Linked DNA regions of Homo sapiens: region 1 is linked to region 2. Evidence: promoter capture Hi-C in 16 types of primary human blood cells and fetal thymus (Javierre and others, 2016). All regions are on one chromosome and are shown on one strand. The core of a region is centred on a gene start or on the middle of the fragment in contact, and the rest is flanking DNA. Distances in the headings are between cores, read along the strand shown.

Evidence for each region. The method cuts DNA at HindIII sites, captures the fragments that hold promoters and counts their contacts. A CHiCAGO score of 5 or more calls a contact.
Region 1: a fragment that was not itself captured here is called in contact with the fragment with the promoter of FAM3A in region 2 in 1 of 17 cell types (total CD4 T cells); the score reaches 6.3 in total CD4 T cells.

Annotation. Positions count from the first base shown.
Region 1 is chrX:153,922,020-153,925,570 of GRCh38, forward strand. All of the region lies in intron 1 of ARHGAP4 (Rho GTPase activating protein 4), which reads right to left. Among named protein-coding and RNA genes, the nearest start is that of ARHGAP4, 2.5 kb to the right of the region's middle. RefSeq lists enhancers at 1,405-1,905, 2,412-2,541. The HindIII fragment of the contact is 3,334 bases long and covers 1-2,923 here.
Region 2 is chrX:154,513,811-154,517,942 of GRCh38, forward strand. FAM3A (FAM3 metabolism regulating signaling molecule A) reads right to left here and starts at 2,422. Exons shown (of 9, transcript NM_021806.4): 1 at 1,950-2,422. The coding sequence starts at 1,962. LOC124905229 (a long non-coding RNA gene) reads left to right here and starts at 1,670. Exons shown (of 2, transcript XR_007068357.1): 1 at 1,670-1,905. RefSeq lists enhancers at 1,690-2,313, 2,314-2,936 and silencers at 2,287-2,696, 2,912-3,068. The HindIII fragment of the contact is 19,151 bases long and covers 1-4,132 here.

The sequences.
Region 1 (3,551 bases), core at 7-2,506, 590 kb before region 2:
ACCTCTGCGCTGAGGCCAACAGATGGCCAGAGCCACCCGGTTGAGGGGGAAGGGGAAGGGTGTCCCAGAGAGAGGGGAGAGCCGCCCCAGCGCCAGCCAGGCACCTTTCAGTTTGGCTTCCTGTCTCTCCCTCGTTCCTGGAAAGCCTCTGAATGGTTTCCCCTGCGACTTCCTTTCCCGCCGGTACCCAGGCTCCGGGAGGTGGCAGCCTCCCTTGCAAACACACGGATACACAACACACAGATCACAGTGCTGCTCAGGGCAAGCCTGCAGCGATCTCGCAGTCTCAGTGGCTGGGGAAGCCTGCCCTCAGGCCCCAGGGGAAAGGACAGTCCACAGTGAGGGCTGGGAGCCAGGGAGAGCTGATCCGGCCTTGTAAGTGAAAGAATGGGGCAGGGAGCTAGCCCCCGTCTTCTGACCCCACTTCCCACTCCCAATCACCCCCCGCCCCACCTGTGCATTCCCCCACCCTGCAGAGAGAGTCACACCCAGGGCCCCATACTGCCGGCCTTTTGACACCCTATCACTGGCTTGATTTGGCAACGCTGCTTCCCCCACACAGGCCTGAAGCAAAGAAGTGCCTGTCCAGCAAGTTTAAGCAACCTGCGGAAGACACTTTTGCCATCTCCTGAGTGCCCGTCCCGAGTAAATAAGATGCTAGCTCAGCTTCTGGCCAGCAGGCTGCCCACCTACTCATCTCCATCCACATCCCCAGGGAGGGACATGAATTGATGTCTTCATTCAGCAGAATGTTGATTATGCACCCATTCTGTGGCAGGCACGTTTTAAATACAAAGGCAAAGAGGTTTGACCAAGTGTCTGCCCTCTTGGAGCTGGGATTGGAATGGGGCACGAACACATATCAGAATGCCCAGGAGTGATGGGTGCGGAGAAGATGAACCCACAAAGCAAGATCAGAGCCAGGGGTGGGTGGGGACAGGGAGGACCTCTTTTTAAAGGAGGGTGGTCAAGAACAAGCCGCATCGTTGGAGCAGAAGGCTGGAGCTGGCTGTACGTGGGCAGTAGGGGGAGTCCGAGAGACCGGTAGGGACAGATGGCACAGAGCCCGGGGTCTGGGCAGAGCTCCCAGCTGGACTCCGAGTGAGAGAGGAGCCACAGTAGTGGGGTGATGTGGTCCAGCTTCGTTTTCAGGGCCCCCTCACACTGCCAGGTGGAGCCCAGGTGGCAGCTACTGTGCTAGTCCAGGCAAAAGACGGCAGGATTCAGACCAGCAGCAGCGAGGGAGGACTCCGCTGAGAAGAGCTCAATCCCATTGGATTTCTGTCCCGCCAGTGACTTCCCAGGGGCTGTTGCATGGGGACCCTGTGGGTTCCGCCTGCCCAGCATCCCTACCTCCTCCCCTGATCTCCTATTGGAGAATGTCCCCTTCCTAGTCTCAGCCCCCTTGACTCCAGGTGCCCCAGCCCTGGCTGCATGCGTCACCCATCCCTCTGTCCCTCCACTCCCTGCCCCCACCAGACTAGCCAGGTGAGGGACCCAGGAGCCTGACCCTTCCAATTGAATTACTGAACAGGAGAGCTCTTCCCACCGGCAGATCAAGCTGGGTAAGTGGAAGCCTGGGGCACGGGACCTCCCGACAGAGCAGGGCAGAGCCCACGATGCCAAGTGAGACAGATGGAGAGTGTCTTCATCCTATCCGAGGCTGGCCTCCTGTGGTTAACTCGTCAGCTCCAAGGCCAGGTGGGGTGGGCGCTAATGCCATTTGAAATCAGGAGAGTCCTCACTGAATCAGTTTAACGTTTTGTTTTGATTTTTTGTTTTGAGACGGAGGATGTTGCCCAGGCTGGAGTACAGTGGTGCGATCTCGGCTCACTGCAACCTCCGCCTCCCGGGTTCAAGCGATTCTCCCGCCTCAGCCTCCCGAGTAGCTGGGACTACAGGGGCGCACCACCACACCCAGCTAATTTTTGTATTTTTAGTAGAGACAGGGTTTCATCATGTTGGCCAGACTGGGTCTTGAACTCCTGACCTCAGGTGATCCGCCCGCCTCGGCCTCCCAAAGTGCTGGGATTACAGACGTGAGCCACCACGCCTGGCCCAGTTTAACATTTTTTGATAAAAGTAAATTTCATTTCATTCCAAGAAAGGTGTTAGACAACTGCTCGCCTCACTGGCCCTCTGGAGCCTGCCCTGCCCTGCTTCCCCCAGAGGAATACAATCCCTGGGGACTTATGACAACTGAACAGTGCAGAAGGAACCAGCAGAGGGAACCGCTGCCTTTCTTCATCACTGCCGGCAGCAAAAGCTGACTGGAAGCCATGTCCTAGTCCAGATCCGGGCATGCACACCGGCTGGTGTTGAGCAGGCAACTTGTGAATTGCAAGTCGATTGCATTGGTGGCTTTCCTGGCAGAGCTTTCGGATCTCAGTTCAGACAAACTCGTCAGCACACCCTGTCCTGACCTCCCCCTAAACTAGGGCTGGCCCTCTTCCGACCCCTTCTTGGCACCGTGCACTTTCCTTCCCTTTGTAGTGCTTATTATCATAATGCAAAGTCTATGTCTCCCCCACTAGACCCGTGAGCCATGTGAGGGCGGGGTGGCCACTGACGCCATTTGAAATCAGGGGAGTCCTCATTGAATCATTGCTTTTACTCTGGGTAAAAAGCCAGGGCTGGAGGGGCTGGAGTCGGGGTTCTCTCTGGTACAGCAGTATACTCCCAGGGCCTGGGACAGCACAGATGTATAGGAAACATCTGGCAAAAGGAGAGCTGGAATCCATGTCTGCCTGAATTACAGAGCTGGGCCCCGGGCCCCACCAGCACTTCCTGTGAGCAAGGCATTTGGTCTCACTTCTGCTGACAAGCAAAACAGAAGAAAAGATGGTCTCCAAAACCACCGCTATGCTGACCTTTGAGAATTTAGGGTGTCAAGACAGTGACCCCACTTTGTAGAATGGTAGGAAGCTTTTCCAGGGTGTGGGATGCAGACCCAGAGCAAGTGAGGAACCCTTAGACAGTCGTGCTCGAAACCCCAACTTTTCAGTGTGAAATCACTGACCCATATTTGCTGACTGAAGTTTTCCAAGTCTTTCAGCTTCATGGCATTTTGGGGAAGCAGGATGGAGATCATTACCTCCATCTGAGCAAGATGATGGCGAGGCTTGGAAAGCTGGCTCACCCTGTGTAGTCACCTCAAGCTGGCTCTGGACACAGGCTGCCTTTTCCAAAGGAGGACTGGAGCATACTTTGGTATAAATTGCTTGCACTGAATAATGATGTTAGAACCTACATCTCTGGGTTCAAAGGCACTTCAAGGGTCATTGCATTCTACGTCCTAGAAGTTGCAGTGCTGTATGACCACGGGCAAGTCACTGCACCTCTCTGAGCTTGTTTCCGTAATTGGTAAAATGGAGTGATTGAGAGTGATATGGACGAGCTGCTGGCACTGAGCTGCTGCCTCTTTCCTTTGCAAGAGTTACCATGCCCTGAATAAGATGGGCACAAGCTATTGGCTAAGAATTTGCAAAGCTGATTTGCATGTGATTTGCACATGGGTGTTTATCAGAACCCAGAGGTTCAATTTCAGAAGG
Region 2 (4,132 bases), core at 1,172-3,671:
CTTCTTCAAAACCACATCCCCATCCTCTTTCCCCTAACCTTTCTTTTCCCTGTCAACCCCCTCAAAAGTCATCTATACTCATTCCATCATCTCACCTCCTACTCCCTCCCACCCTACTCCAGTCTGGCCTGGCTTCCACCACCTCACCAAATCAGCTTGTTGCCAAGGCCACTGATGACCTTTGTGGTGTCACCACCCCTGGTGACCTGTCAGCCTTGATCTTCCTTGACCTCTCAGTGGGCTGCCCATGTCCACCTGACAGAAGCACTAACTTCTCTGCTGGCTTTCCGGACAGCACACTCTCCTGACCCAATCTCTCTGGACACTCCTCATTCTCCTTAGTTAGATCGTCTCCTCTACCCTCCCCTTAAAAGCTGGACTTTCCCAGGCTCCCATCTCAGGCTGCCTTCTGGTCCCTACCTGTAGTGTCTTTTTATTTTTTTTATTTTTGAGACGGAGTCTTGCTCTTGCCCCCCAGGCTGGAGTGCAATGGCGCGATGTCGGCTCACTGCAACCTCCGCCTCCTGGGTTCAAGCGATTCTCCTGCCTCAGCCTCCCAAGTAGCTGGGATTACAGGCGCGCACCACCGTGCCTGGCTAATTTTTTTTTTTGAGACAGAGTCTTGCTCTGTTGCCCAGACTGAAGTGCAGTGGCGTGATCTTGGCTCACTGCAAGCTCCGCCTCCCGGTTACACGCCATTCTCCTGCCTCAGCCTCCCTGGTAGCTGGGACTACAGGCGCCCGCCACCACGCCCGGCTAATTTTTTTGTATTTTTAGTAAAGACGGGGTTTCACCATGTTAGCCAGGATGGTCTTGATCTCCAGACCTCGTGATCCGCCCGCCTCGGCCTCCCAAAGTGCTGGGATTACAGGTGTGAGCCACCGCACCCGGCCATGCCTGGCTAATTTTTGTATTTTTAGTAGAGACGGGGTTTCACCATCTTGGCCAGACTGGTCTCGAACTCTTGACCTCAGGTGATCCACCCGCCTTGGCCTCCCAAAGTGTTGAGATTACAGGCGTGAGCCACTGCGCCCAGCTGTCTTTACTTTTTTGAGACGGAGTCTCGCTCTGTCGCCCAGGCTGGAGTTATGCGGTGGCGCAATCTCGGCTCACTGCAACCTCAGCCTCCCGGGTAGCTGGGATTACAGGCACCCGCCACCACGCCAGGCTCATTTTTTTGTATTTTTTTAGTAGAGATGAGGATTCACCATGTTGGCCAGGCTGGTCTCGAACTCCTGACTTCAAGTGATCCTCCCACCTCGGCCTCCCAAAGTGCTAGGATTACAGGCGTGAGCCACCGCGCCCGGCCTGTAGTGTGTTTTTAGATGATGTCATCTACTCCTAGCTCTTTAATTAAGCACCATGTGTCAATGACTTTCTATTTTCTAGTTCCAGCCGTGGCCTCTCTTGAAACCACTCCCTGCCAGCTGGTTCCTCAGTGGCCAGCTCCACCTGGATATGTCCACAAAGTTACCACCTTAGCAAGTCTGAAGTCCAATTCCCGAGTTGTTTCTACTCTCCACCCAGCCCCAACCTATCCCTCCCCAAGGATCTTCATCTTACTTGTCCAGGTGACAGTAGGGCTGTCATCGGGTTCATGTCGAAGCCCACAGCCACTTTTGTCACTTCCCCTCTAAGACCACGCCTCTCCACCTGGACTGCCCACCTCCTCTCTCTCACCACTCATTTTCCAAAAAGCAGCTGGTCTGCTACCTGCGTTGGGAGATACTGACTATACTAATCCTCATGTCATAGCTCGGGGAGCTGACGTCCTCAGAGGTGAAAGGATTTGGTTAAGGTCAAGGAACGAGTGTTTGTGCAGAGTCCTCCATTTCCAAAACCAAACCCAGTGGTTCACCCGGGCCTCTCCAGACACAGATGTCGCGACGCTGGGCCTCCAGCCAGGTGCCCTTTTCAACTCCCTCCCGTTCGCTGTGGAAGCCACCCACCTGCCAACCTCATGTCCACTTCTCCTGCTGGGTTGGGACCGCCGGCAAGTGCACTGTTTGGGGGCAAAGCGGAAGGACAGGTTTGGGTGGGGGTCAGGGGCAAGCCTGTGCGGGACCCCTGCTGGGGGCGGGCGCGATCGGTGCTACGACCTGTTTGTCCAGCCGCCCGGCCAGGCAGGGCTCCTCGGAAACGCGCGGGGAAACCCTGCCTGGCCAGGAGGGGCCTCAGGAACCCGTTGGCTCACGATCTTGCCCACAGGAGCCTCCGGGGCTGGGACGAAGATGTGGTTCTCCTGGGCTCGGGCCGTTCCTCCGGGCCTGGGGGCTGGCGATGCGGGCCGGGCCGGAGATTTCTCTGGCCGTGGGGAGACGTGGGCTCGGTCAGGGAGGTTCCCTGTCAGGCCCGCCGACCCGCTCCGCCCCGGGAGAGGACGCAAGGCCGCTGCGCAGGGTGGCCAGGCAGGCCCGGCAATGGCGGCTAAGGGCGGGGCCACAGCCCGCCGGCCCCGCCCCCGGCAGCAGCTGCGCCGTCTGGCTCCACGCAGGCCCCGCCTCCAGACCCGCCTCTACCGCTCGCGCTGGCCGCCGCATGGGAGGGGCCTGAACCTGTCCCGCCCCGAACCTGTCCCGCCCCTGGATCCCTCGTCGGCCCCACCTCCGCAGTGCGTTCAGGCTGAACCCACCGGCCGCCGAGTGGGAGGGGCCCACGTCGGTCCCGCCCCGGAAGTCTCCCCTCGGCCCTTTCTCGGGTGGGAGAGCCCTGCCTACCCAGGCTTAGAGGGCTGGGGCTGCGCTTGCACCCTGAGGTCAGATTTGTGAGTCGTGGGAAGACGCAGATGGATCTGGGGCAGAATTAGAACCTGTTCCAAAGTTGATCCATGCGCTTTGTAAAGGCAAGGGAGGTACAGAGGCGCAGATAGGGAAGACCGCAGGATCCAGCGTGAGCCTCTGGCTGCCTTTCCTTAGGGTCTGTTTTCTGTCCAGAAGCGCGTTCCTGCTGTCTCTCGTTATCACTTTTATAATGGGACGGGGCGTCTCAAACTATTTCGACATCCTTGAAAACTCTTGCCTGCTCCGCCTGCCTGGTCTCTAACACCCTCCTCCTCAGAGCTGCTCAAGCTGTGTTGTTTACGCCACACCCCACCCTAAAAGCAGAGGAGAATACAACTTTCGGGGGCAGTGGAGGGGGGAGTTTAGCGCTATAACCCGAGGCTTTCACAGCAAACCAGAATTTATTTTGAGGCCTCTCAGGTTCAGCTTTCAAGTCACGTGACTTTCGCGTCCTACACAACTCTTATTTTCACTTGAAAACAAGTGTGACGTCGTGAATTCCCTAACAATAGGAAAAAAGAAGGCTCCAGAAAGAGCGGTGCTTGGCTTTCCCAGCGGCTCCAAATGGTGCCCGGCACCCAGCTGGCTGTATGGACCTGGGGTGGTCTCCGGCCGCAGGCAGACGCGGCCCTTCGGCCTTTCTCCAGTCACCCCAATTCTCCCTGACTGCCTGGCTATCTCCCCTCCGCGCCTGCCCGCACGCTGCCCCCAACACTGCCCGGGCTCCCTCTGCCCATGAGAACACGGGTCAAGCTCCCGTCCCTTCTGCCCTGCCGGCTGCCCCAAGTGCGCCCTGACCACCTACTGCGCTGGCATGGCCGGGGCCACCCTGACAGCTGATCCATCATCTGTCTGGAGAGCAGCAGCAGGGCCCAATGAGAACCACGGAAACCTCCCTGCCCTTTGACCCAACTTACGGGAATCTCCTACCCTTAGGGAAACAATGCAAAATATAGAGAAAGTTTATAGAGCCGGGCATGGGAGAGCCCTGGTTAGAATCCAGCAGCTTCTATACTGGAGTACTCAACAGGGTCAAGGTCCCTTTCAGCTGCCTGCTGCTGGGGCCAGGGCTTTGCATTTGCGTTTTGTCATGGAATTTGACAGCCTCTCAAGTAATTATGGTAACGAATCTTGGGCTCCATGCCCTCCTCAGGGGGGCCCAGTCGAAGAAGCTCCAGGTTACTCACACCCTTGAGCTGCCAGCCGGTGTTTTTCAAAGACAATATTTACATGTTGTTCAGAGCAGGCATTTATGAAAGTGTTGCTTTAATGAGTCCCCCTGAGCATTCCGAGACAACTCTCCCTTCCTTGGGGACACCACGTGGGTGATGGGCCAGAGGCCTGGGATTCAG